Regions from separate parts of the Homo sapiens genome. Here region 2 is linked to region 1. Evidence: promoter capture Hi-C in 16 types of primary human blood cells and fetal thymus (Javierre and others, 2016). All regions are on one chromosome and are shown on one strand. Each heading gives the region's core, a stretch centred on a gene start or on the middle of the fragment in contact. The rest is flanking DNA. Distances are from core to core; before and after follow the strand shown.

Region 1 (5,674 bases), core at 931-3,430:
GTAGCCAGCCACGGGGCCTAGAGCAATTGGCTTGGGCTCTCACTGACCTGCAGGGAGAGAGGAAGGTCAGGGGAAGGGTAGGAAATGCCCCTGGTCCTCTCCTGCCGGCATTCCTCAGTATAGGATCAGTCAGCCACCCTCTCCCATCCAGGTTAGCCGGTGCCACATCCAGGGAGCAGAGGCTCAGGCCATCCCCTTTCCCTGTCCTTCAGAGACATTGAGTGGGGTCTCTCTGGCCACTCAGAAACATATTCCCCTTTGAAGGTGCCCCAATCTGGCCACAGGGTCGTGCAAGCAGGCCTTAGCAAGCAGGACACTTGGAAAAGGAAACAGGGCTGGTCCCGGCCCAATTCCTGAAAGTGGCTTCAACCGGAAAAAATACCTCTTCCCAACCCAGCAGCTTTGAGCCCAAGACAAGAAGGCTCCCAGCCACAGGCTGGCTCCAGCAGGGCCCACCCTTCCCGCCCCCAAACACCGAGGTCGGGGATATAACCACAGGGTAGGAGCCTCCAGTAATTGCAGCCAACTGCCCTGCCCAGGCCCAGCAGGGCCATCGGGGCAGGAGAGGGAGGTGGTCCCCAGGCCCTATCAGCTACTGCCAGCTACTCTGCCCCTGCCAAGGGGATCGCAGAATGCCAAACTGTAAACATCACCTTGTTTAACCTTTGCATTTCCATTTCATGAAGAGGAAACTGGCTTGGAGAGGAGGGGGGCTTGCTCAGGTCCTATTGAGAGTTAGGAGCCAGGACTGGAACCCAGGTTTCTTTTTTTTTTTTCTTTAGACGGAGTCTTGCTTTGTCACCCAGGTTTCTTGCCTTGCAGTTCAGATTGGATCTCTCACTTGCCTATCAGAACTTCCCACTGAGGCCAGGCGCGATGGCTCATGCCTGTAATCCCAGCACTTTGGGAGGCCGAGGTGGGTGAATTACCTTAGGTGAGGAGTTCCAGACCAGCCTGGCCAACATGGCAAAACCCCATCTCTACTGAAAATACAAAAATTAGCCAGGCGGGGTGGCGCACACCTGTAATCCCAGCTACTTGGGAAGCTGAGGCAGGAGAATCGCTTGAAGCTGGGAGGCGGAGGTTGCAGTGAGCCGAGATCGCGCACCACTGCACTCCAGCCTGGGCAACAGAGCGAGACTCCGTCTCAAAAAAAAAAAAAGAAAAAAAAAAAGAACTCACTGATATTTTGCGTGTATTCCCGCTGCTATAAAACCAAGCAATTTCCGTTAGAAATGGGCCCCTTGCCTCACTAAAAAGTTCCTTCCACTAATTCTTCCTAATAACCTGCGCTCCCACTCCCAGAAATTTGCCCCCAGGGTCCTTGTCCCTTTTTTATCCTAAGACCTCATGACCCTTTTCCACCTCCCTTCTGCTGGGGCAAGGAGCGAGGAGGGGTTGTAAATCAAGAGCTGACAGTTCTCTTGGCAGTAACAGAATGGGCCACCCACATGGCCCTGCACACCCGACCCCACCCCTATCTTCCCCTACTCCCCCTGAGTCCTGGAGGCTGAGGGACCTTGGATCTGGGGACAACAAAGGAACAGAATTAGCCAGGGAAGTGGGGAAGGAGTCTGTGAGAGGCCTTGGGGCAGAGACCCTGCCAGGTCCAGCCCACCCCTGCACCCAGCATCTAGTGTGTAGTCAGTCTGCTCATAGGTAGTTGAGGCCTGGGAACCAAGGAGAGTCTGGCAGTGTCCCCCTCCCTGTCTCCCAGGGAGTCTCCTTGGCAGTGGGTCAGATTCCAAGGTCCCAGGAAGGCACTGCTTGTCTGACCCCATGGGTGCCCTCTGTCCTCTCCTCTTCTCCCCAGCCCTGAGCAGGGAGACTATAAAAAGTTCCTAATCACAAGGACCAAAATAGTCTGTCATCCACAGCCTCTTCCCTGCCTTCTGGGCTAGCCTGGAGGCCGGACCTCAGACATCCCGCCCTAGAAGCCTGGCAGGCAGCCTCGGGCCCTCCATTCCTTTGCCTGCCTTCTCCCAGTCCTGAAACTTGTGGTCTCAACTCTGCCCAAGGCTTCTGCTCTGGGCATGGGCCATCTTTTAGGCTCACTAGTTTGGCACCAGTCTCCCTGCCCTCAGGCCCCTGGGTTCCTTCTTACCCCAGCCCTGGGCTCAGGGTACACTCACCTCTGCATGGGAGGCCTAATTGCAGGGGTCCTTGGGCAGGTCCAGACTGAGGGCAGGAGTGGACAGCAAGGACTAGAAGTAACTTTGGTGGCAGCCAAACCTCACTCTCCACAGGAAAAGCAGAGAAAGCCTCCACCCCCCGCCCCCCAAATTAACCCTCGCCTTCCTGAGGCAGATCCTGGCCTCCATTAACTCTTTCCTGATCACAGTCCTGCGCTGTGGAGACCTGTGAACCAAGTCCAGCTCCTTTTATTTTACAGATGGTCAAACAGTCCCAGCCCGGTTAGGTGATTGGCTGTGGAAGCACTGTGAGCTTGGGCAGAGCCAGGACTCCAAACAAGGCCTCCTGATCCCCAGGCTTCCTCCAAAGGCCTGGGGTGGGGGCTCCGTATGTGGGATCAGCCCCCTCCCTGGGCTGTGGCAGATGCTCTGACAGTCTGAATGGGAAGGCAGAACAGGGTTCTAGTCAACTTGCTTTTTTCCCTCTGTAGCAGGCTGAGACCTGTCTTGGTCTGGGTGCTGGGTGGTGTCAAGCCTGCTTTCCCTGGGGGCGAGACCAGGAATCTGCAGCCTAAGGGTGGGGGCATTGGTGCTATAGATGTGCAGGTGAGCCTGTGGCGGCAAGTCTTGTCATGAAGGTGACCCTGGAGCCCACTGGAGCTGCCTCTGCCAAGGTCCTTTCATGGCAGATGGGATTGCCTGGGAAGACAGTGATGAGGGGCTGATTCCAGGGCCAAGCCCAGGTCCTTTGGCCCGCTTCCTTCTCTGCCCACACTTGGAGCCTCTTAGAGCTTCTTCCATCAGAGTTTCTTCTCTGACACCTTATGTCTCAAGGTGAAACCCTACCTCATAGGAGACACCTCCCCTCTCCCCAGCAGGCAAACTAAACTCTCCAGCCCAGACTAAGACCAGTGCTCAGGCCAAAGGTTCCTTTCCCCCCTTGGCTGGCCACCTTCCCCAAGTCCCTCCTCCTCCTTTCTAGCCCTCTTTCATGTTTGCAAAGCACATTCCCGTCTGTGCTCTCTGATCTCCTTTGACCGCCCCCAAACAAGGACCCTAGACAGGCGTCCAGCAGGAATGACCCCCCACTTAATGAGTAAGGAAACAGGAGCTGAGGGGGGAGAGAGATGCCCAAAGCCCAGCTCCAAATCCACATTTGGAACTGCATCCTCTGCCTGTCAAGTCAGTAGTGGGTCTGAAAACCCAAGGCCCATCTCCCGGTAAAAGGTTTTTATTACCTAAAGGGGGGATTTTGTTGGTGATAGTTCCATATTTTGTTGCTACAGCACTTTTCAAAATGCCATTAGCTGCTTTGTCATAATCCCCATGACAATCTTTGGGGGAGGTTTTATTATTTTTCACACTTACGGCTGAAGAGACTGAGGCTCAGAGAGGAGAAATGACTTATCCAAGCTCACCAAACTCTGTCACCCAGGCTGGAGTGCCGTGACGTGATCTTGGCTCACTGCAACCTCCGCCTCCTGGGTTCAAGCGATTATCCTGCCTCAGCCTCCCGAGTAGCTGGGATAACAGGCAAGTGCCTGGCTAATTTTGTGTTTTTAGTAGAGACAGGGTTTTACCATGTTGCTCAGGCTGATCTTGAACTTCTGACCTTGCGATCTGCCGGCCTCGGCCTCCCAAAGTGCTGGGATTACAGGTGTGAGCCACCTCTCCCGGCCAATAGCTAACTTTTATTGAGAGATTAATATATGTTAGGGGCTATTCTAAGTACCTCACATAAGGATTAACATATTTAATCCTCAAAACAACCCGATGAAATGGCACTTTCGGGCCGGGCGAGGTGGCTCACACCTGTAATCCCAGCACTTTGGGAGGTGAAGGCGGGCCGATCACTTGAGGCCAGGAGCTGGAGACCAGCCTGGCCAACACGGCGAAACCCTGTCTCTACTAAAAATACAAAAATTAGCTGGGCGTGGTGGTGCGCTCCTGTAATCTCAGCTACTAGGGAGGCTGGGGCAGGAGAATCACTTGAACCCAGGAGGCGGAGGTTGCAGTGAGCCAAGATCACACCACTGCACTCCAGCCTGGGTGACAAAGCTGCAAAAAAGAAAAACAAAAAAAGTCACTTTCATTCTCCTAACTTTCTAGGTGAAGGCTGAGGGTGCCAGCTTGGCTCTGAGATCTGGTCAGGAAGGGGTTAAGCATGGGAGGTGGGCAGGGCCAGCTGGGATGCTGTCAATGGCAGGAAACCTGGCCCGCCGCCTGGGGGGAGGATGGGGCTGTTGTGTCTGACTCTGCAACCCCCATCCCTTTGGTCTTAAAGGAGCATCCAGGTTGGGTGGTAGGACCGGTAGGGGCCCCTTCACAGCTCCCTTCTAGGGATCGAGGACAGATGCTGGACTACAGAAAGAGGGGACTCAGGGTGCAACGCAGGTGACACCCTGGGGCAGCTCTGGTCTGACAAGGGTGACTCAGTCCTCCACGCCAAAGCCCTCAGTCGGAAGTGCCCCCACCTCTGCTCGGGAGGGTTTTGTCAGGGAGGGGAGACAGCCCCAGCTCTGGGAGCCCCCAGTGAGACAGAAGTGGCACAGCTCTGCCCTCAGGGATCTCTGGTGGGGGCTGGGGGAGGGCTAAGCAGCCTTGCTCTCAGGAGCTGTCAGTGTGAGGGCAACAGACCCCTACCCTGATGCCAATGGACAGAATCCTGGGAGACAGGCACAGACCTTCCACCCTGTGGGCAGCGCAGGGTCAGGGAGGAGAGGTCAAATTGGATCGGCTTTCTGGGTAAGGGGGCCCTGAAAAAGTCAGCAGAGGAGAGGGGAGGTGGGGGCGGATGAGAAGATGAGGTGGGCTGCATCTATCTGGCCTCGGCTCCCAGCCACCCTCGCCATGAACCGGACCGTCCCTGTTTCTGGTTGTGGGTCCCCTGGGACTACCTTAAAGTAGCTCTTTCCGGCCCTAGAGCCAGGACCTCAGGCAAGGGGGAAGCGAGTCTTGGGGTGTTTCCTTCCTACTTCCTGCCTCATTCCCAGATCACCTTGGGGATGGAGATCGGGAATGGGCCTGAGTCAGAACGTCTCCTTCCAGGAGAGGGTGGTGGAAGGATGGGGGAGCAGCTCTGGTCAGTGTCGGGAATAACCAGCCAGGTCAGGGAGGCCTTCAGATCCAGTCTCACATCCCATGCCCACATTGTCACGGAGGAAACGTGTGTCACCCCCTTCACTAGCTGGCTACAGCCCCCACACCTCAGCCCTACCTTTGATTCCAGCCCTAGTCTACCTCTCGCTGGCTGTGTGGGCTTGAGCAAGAACTTAACCTCTCTGAGTTTCCTTCTGTGTCAGGCGGGAATGGTGAGACCCAGCTCCTGTGTGGCTTGGAGATGCAGGGAAGTGGAGCCTGCAACCAACCGCAAGGTGCTCTGGAATGTGGGGCCTGCAATCCGCAAGGTGCAAGTTAGATGAATCTGACTTCAGCTTTCGCCCTTTACCAACTCCTTGCTGCACTTCTGGCCCGCATCTCTTTTCCTAATCCCAGTCTTGCTCACAGCTGCCGGCAGCAAATCACCGAGAACACCTGCACTG
Region 2 (5,674 bases), core at 1,873-4,372, 190 kb before region 1:
AGCCTCTAGTCCTACTCCCATGATCACTCATTAATCCATTAAACCATTAATCTATTAATCCATGAGTATATTAATCCATTCATGAGGCATAGCCCTCATAACCCAATCACTGCTTAGAGGCCCCACCTCTCAATATTACCACATTGGGGATTAAGTTTCAACATGAGTTTTGGAGGGGACAAATATTCAAGCCATAGCAGAAGCTTAGAAGGTCTTCTTTGGCAGGTGTTAATATTATCCTACATTTAGTAAGGGAGGCTATGGAGACCCAGAGAGATCAAGGAAGAGTCAGAAAAGAAACAAGACCCAGGCCCCACCCCTCCAGGACGGAGGGTGAGACATGCTCTGCTGAGGATGATCACAGGAGCAGCTGGACATGCCCCAGAGCTGTGGCCTGGGGGTAGGAGGGAGGATGCCTGGATGTGAAATCAGAAGATGGGAATTTAAATCCCTGCTTGACAACCTCATAGCCGCGTCATCCTGGGCCAGTCACTCGTCTTCTCTGACCCTCGGTTTCTTAACCTTCAGTAGGGAAAAAATCACAGAGGACAGAATCGAGGGAAGAGTGCCTTGTAAAGCCCAAGTGCCCTAACGGAGCCAAGGGGCTCCATTTATTTACTTTTTTTTTAAAATTTTAATTTTGAGACAGAGTCTCGCTCTGTTGCCCAGGCTGGAGTGCAGAGGCGTGATCTCAGCTCACTGCAACCTCCGCCCCCCAGGTTCAAGCGATTCTCCTACCTCAGCTTCCCAAGTAGCTGGGATTACAGGTGCCCACCACCATGCCTGGATAATATTTTTATTTTTAGTAGAGACTAGGTTTCATCACGTTAGTCAGGCTGGTCTCGAACTCCTGACCTCAGGTGATCGGCCTGCCTCGGCCTCCCAAAGTGCTGGGATTACAGGCGTGAGCCACCGCACCCAGCCTTATTTTTGTTTTTATTAAAAACTTTTTTTAGGCCGGGCGCAGTGGCTCACGTCTATAATCCCAGCACTTTGGGAGGCCAAGGCGGGTGGATCACTTGAGGTCAGGAGTTTGAGACCAGCCTGGGCAACATAGTGAAACCCCATCTCTACTAAAAATACAAAAATTAGCTGGGCATGGTGGCACATGCCTGTAATCCCAGCTACTCGGGAGGCTGAGGCAGGAGAATCGCTTGAACCTGGGAGGAGGAGGTTGCAGTAGGCTGAGATCGTGCCACTGCACTCCAGCCTGGGCGACAGAGCGAGACTCTGTCTCAAAAAATAATGATAACTTTTCTTAGCGATAAGATCTCTCTGTCACTCAGGCTGGAGTGCAGTGACACGATCATAGCTCATTGCAGCCTGGGCTCAAGTGATCCTCCCACCTCAGCCTCCAGGGTAGCTAGGGCTACAGGCACACACCACCATGCTGGCTAATTCTTTTAATTTTTTGTAGAGACTTGTAGAGTCTTTTTATGTCACCTAGGCTGGTCTAGAACTGCTGGCCTCAAGCAATCCTCCCACCTCTGCCTCCCAAAGTTCTGGGATTACAGGTGTGAGCCACTGCATCCAGCTCTGAGAGGCTCCATTTAGACCTACACTTGCACACAGACCTGCCCCTGTGCTCTGGAGACCATCAGCAGGTGCTCATGCCCATACACACGTGTGCACACCAGCTAACATTTGGTCACAAATCTCCAAGGTGACAGCAGAAAGTTGATGAGCCAGCAATTTAGGTTATAAGGCGAGCATTTTGGGTGTGGTGGCATGTGCCTGTAGTCCCAATTACTTGGAGAGTTAACGCAGAAGGATCACTTCAGCCCAGGAGTTCAAGGCTACAGTGAGCTACTGCACTTCAACCTGGGCAACAGAGCAAGACTCAGTCTTATAAAATAAATTAAAATAAAAAGATAAAAAGTTAGGCCAGGCACAGTAGTGGCATATATCCATAATCCCAACATTTTGGAAGGCCAAGGTGGGAGGATCACTTCAGCCCAGGAGTTCGAGACCAGCATGGGCAACATAACAAGACCTCAAAGTACAAAATAAAAACTAGCTGGGGCTGGGCACGGTGGCTCACACTTGTAATCCGAGCACTTTGGGAGGCCAAGACGGGTGGATCATGAGGTCAGGAGATCAAGACCATCCTGGCTAACACGGCGAAACCCCGTCTCTACAAAAAATACAAAAAAATTATCTGGGCGTGGTGGAGGGCACCTGTAGTCCCAGCTACTTGGGGAGGCTGAGGCAGGAGAATGGCGTGAACCAGGGATGTGGAGCTTGCAGTGAGCCGAGATCATGCCACTGCACTCCAGCCTAGGTGACAGAGCGAGACTCTGTCTCAAAAAAAATAAATAAATAAAAATAAAAATAAATAAATAAATAAAAACTAGCTGGGTGTGGCGGCGTGTGCCTGTAGTCCCAGCTACTTGGGAGGCTGAGGCAGGAGGATCACTTGAGCCCAGGAGTTCAAGGCTGCAGTGAGCTAAGATCATACCACTGCACTCCAGCCTGGGTAACAGAGTGAGATTCTGTCTCACAAAAAAAAAAAAAAAAAAAAAAAAACGCAGGGGGAGGTTTCATTGTTTCTCTTACTGGACTCTGGCAAGACTCCAGTTTTGTGGCTGAGGACCCTGATGCTTGAACAGAAGAAATGGCCAGTTAGTGAGCAACTAAGGAACCCAGCTCTGCTTGAGGCCAAAGCCCATCTTCCCTGAACAGAGTTAGAACAACGCTTGCCCAGTTTTCGGCTTTCTAGTTTTCAGCTCCTGGGGGACTAGACCTAGGGCTCTGTGGGCAGAGTCCCAGCCCCCCTATAGACCTGTGGGTCAGCTGCATCTTCCCTTCTGCCTTCTTCCTTTTCTCTCCTTCTGGGCTCAGGCCTCAGCTTCACCTTTGAAGGACCCTGACCTAGGAGATCACCTGAAAGTCAGGGAGAGGGATGGATGAGGGGCTCTGATCAACCAAATCAGAGCTGAGACTACCATGCCCATTTCACAGATGAGAAAGCAATGGCCCAAAAAGGCCAAGCGATTTGCCTGAGGTTCCCAGCCTGACTTGGGTAGGGGTGGTTATTCTGCACTTTAGGAAGCCACTCTCACCACCCTCTGACCCTCATCTTTCTTATTCCTCTGCAGGGAGCTGGACCACAGTGGGACAAGGACACCTCCAGACAGGTTGCCAGGGCCCCACATGGAGGAGGCAGGTGGGCCCATGGCCCGGGCCAAGGCCCGAGTGGTAAGTGCCACATTGACATGGCGGCAGCGGCCCCCCACCCAGGAAGAGATCAAACATGGTTTTCACAAGGTGTCCCTGGTGTCAGGGGCCCAGATGGAAGCCCCGCAGAAGGAGATGTTTGAGTTCAGCCGTCGAGAGGAAGTGGAAGTCAATGGCTTTGCAACACAGGAAGAAGAGACTGTGAATTGCCAGGGCCCTCGGGATACAGCTGGCTCCAAGAACTTCCAGAGCCATGGACCCATCTTTTCCAAGAAGTACATACCACCTCCCAAGGAGAAAAGGCCTGAGGGGAGGCTGAAGGAGGCTGTGGACCAGAGTGATGGCAGCCGCCAAGCTCCCAGGACTGAGCCCCCATGTGTGGGAGCTATGGCCAGGACTGAGCTTTTGGTTCCCCTGCCTGGGCCCCGAGAGCCAAGTCCCCACCCAGGTGTAGGTCTCACCAGTGGTAGCTCCCGGAGCCTCGAGGAATACCGAGTGACACGCACTGTGCGGACCACCACAGTGGTGGGAGGTCATGTGGACCGGCGGATGAGCAGCTCTGTGACTGTGAGGCCAGTGTCCTCAGGCGAGGCCCTGCCACGGGGCCGTCAGGTCTCCCGCATGGTGCCGCCAGTGGTGGTGGGCTCCCCACCAGGCTCGCCCAGCCGCAGCCAGGCCGTGAAAGTGCTAAGTAACCTCGTGCCTGCTGGGCACAGCCCCCCTGCCAGTCACCTGCCCAGGCCCACGGCTGGCGGGCCAAGGAGCACAGGTCTGGGCAGCACAGTGGGGGCAGCCTTGAGGCAGCTGCCTGAGACCGGGACAGCAGAGCTTAAAGACAGCTCTGCCCTGGCCTCTACAGGCATCCCAGCCAGTGCTCACCTGCCTAAGAATCAGGATGCCCCTGCAGCCTGTCCGGACAGAGACCAGGGCAGAGCCCCGGATGCCAGGGCCTGTGAGCTCTGGCAGGTGCTGGGAGCCCCCAGTTCCACTGAGCTCCCTCTCCAGACTTCTCAGGGTCAAGCATCAGTCCCCTCCTCTCCCAGACTCGAGACCCATGTCCCCTCTCCTGGCCTAACTCACCCTGCAAAGCAGCCTGTGGTGCCCACTCACCCCGGGGCCCGGCTCACTCCCCTTGTTCTGCCCCCTAAAAAAAAGGACGGGCCCGTGGACCCCCCTGCTGCCACCGTCCTGCCCATGGTGAGGAGCGAGCATGTGACAGTCCCTGGACAACCTCCTGCTCCATCCACTACAAGAAGGAAGGATGTCCCCAGCCCAGGAGGTCTTTCTGCTCCATCGTCCCCAAGGAATAAGTTTGTTCAGAACTCTGAAAATGTCCCTGTCCTCCCCTTTACCCAGAGGGAGGTCGTGAAGGGCCCCGGTGCTCCTGCTGCCTCATCTCCCACCCGGAAGGAGGTGGTGCAGGGGTCCAGTGCTTCTGCTGCCTCGTCCCCCACCTGGAAAGAGGTCGTGAAGGGCCCTGGTGCTCCTGCTGCCTCATCTCCCACCCAGAAGGAGGTGGTGCAGGGGTCCAGTGCTCCTGCTGCCTTGTTCCCCACCTGGAAAGAGGTCGTGAAGGGCCCCGGTGCTCCTGATGCCTCATTTCCCACCTGGAAAGAGGTTGTGAAGGGCCCTGGTGCTCCTGCTGCCTCATCCCCCACCCAGAAGGAGGTGGTGCAGGGGTCTGGTGCTCCTGCTGCCTTGTCCACCACCCCAAAAGAGGTTGTGAAGGGCCCTGGTGCTCCTGCTGCCTCATCGCCCACCCAGAAAGAGGTTGTGAAGGGCCCCTGTGCTCCTGCTGCCTCATCTCCCACCCAGAAGGAGGTGGTGCAGGGGTCTGGTGCTCCTGCTGCCTTGTCCCCCAAGTCAACTGAGGTTGTCCAGGGCCCAAAAGGCAGCAGTAGCATCCAAAAAGAGGCTGTCCAGGGTATTGCAGGCAGCCTTGCCCCGCCCCTCACCAAGGAAGAGACTGTTCAAGGCCCAATTGCTCCTGCCACCTCACTCCCCAAACAGGATAAGGGGGTCCAGGACTCTGAAGGGAGCCCCATCTCATCTCTCACCCAGAAAGAGGTTGTGCAGGACCCTGATGCTCTCCCTGCCCCATCTTCCTCAGTGGACAGGGTGTCCCCCAGCCCAGGAGGCACCCCTGCCCCAGTGCCAACAGGAGCAGAGGCCAGCACGGAGTCCCAGCTTGTCTCTGATCCCACCGAGGGCAAGACGTGCACAGAGACATCAAGGGAGGAGGATGAGGTGGCCCTGGCCGCTGACCTGGAGATATTCCTGGATACGCTGCGGAGCATGGAGCCCCCTGAGATCCTCCGCACTCACCGGCTGCCACGAGCCCCTCGCTCCTCCTACCTGTCCATGTACGCCACGCTGCCTGCCATTGAGGAGGACCAGCTGGGGCCATGGGTGCTGGGCCCCGGACCCCAGGAGGTGCCTTCACTGGAAGAGAAAGAGGAGGAGGAGGAGGAGGAACCAGAGAACCCCTATCTGAGTG

The links. The method cuts DNA at HindIII sites, captures the fragments that hold promoters and counts their contacts. A CHiCAGO score of 5 or more calls a contact.
Region 2: a fragment that was not itself captured here is called in contact with the fragment with the promoter of FAM110D in region 1 in 1 of 17 cell types (neutrophils); the score reaches 5.3 in neutrophils.

What each region holds. Positions count from the first base shown.
Region 1 is chr1:26,155,585-26,161,258 of GRCh38, reverse strand. FAM110D (family with sequence similarity 110 member D) reads right to left here and starts at 2,180. Exons shown (of 2, transcript NM_024869.3): 1 at 2,133-2,180; 2 at 1-47. RefSeq lists enhancers at 3,906-4,635, 4,636-5,365, 5,366-5,674. The HindIII fragment of the contact is 9,541 bases long and covers 1-5,674 here.
Region 2 is chr1:26,344,137-26,349,810 of GRCh38, reverse strand. It overlaps CRYBG2 (crystallin beta-gamma domain containing 2), which reads left to right. Exons shown (of 20, transcript NM_001039775.4): 2 at 3,099-5,674. The coding sequence starts at 3,154. Among named protein-coding and RNA genes, the nearest start is that of CRYBG2, 7.2 kb to the left of the region's middle. RefSeq lists enhancers at 1-442, 2,731-3,484. The HindIII fragment of the contact is 5,833 bases long and covers 206-5,674 here.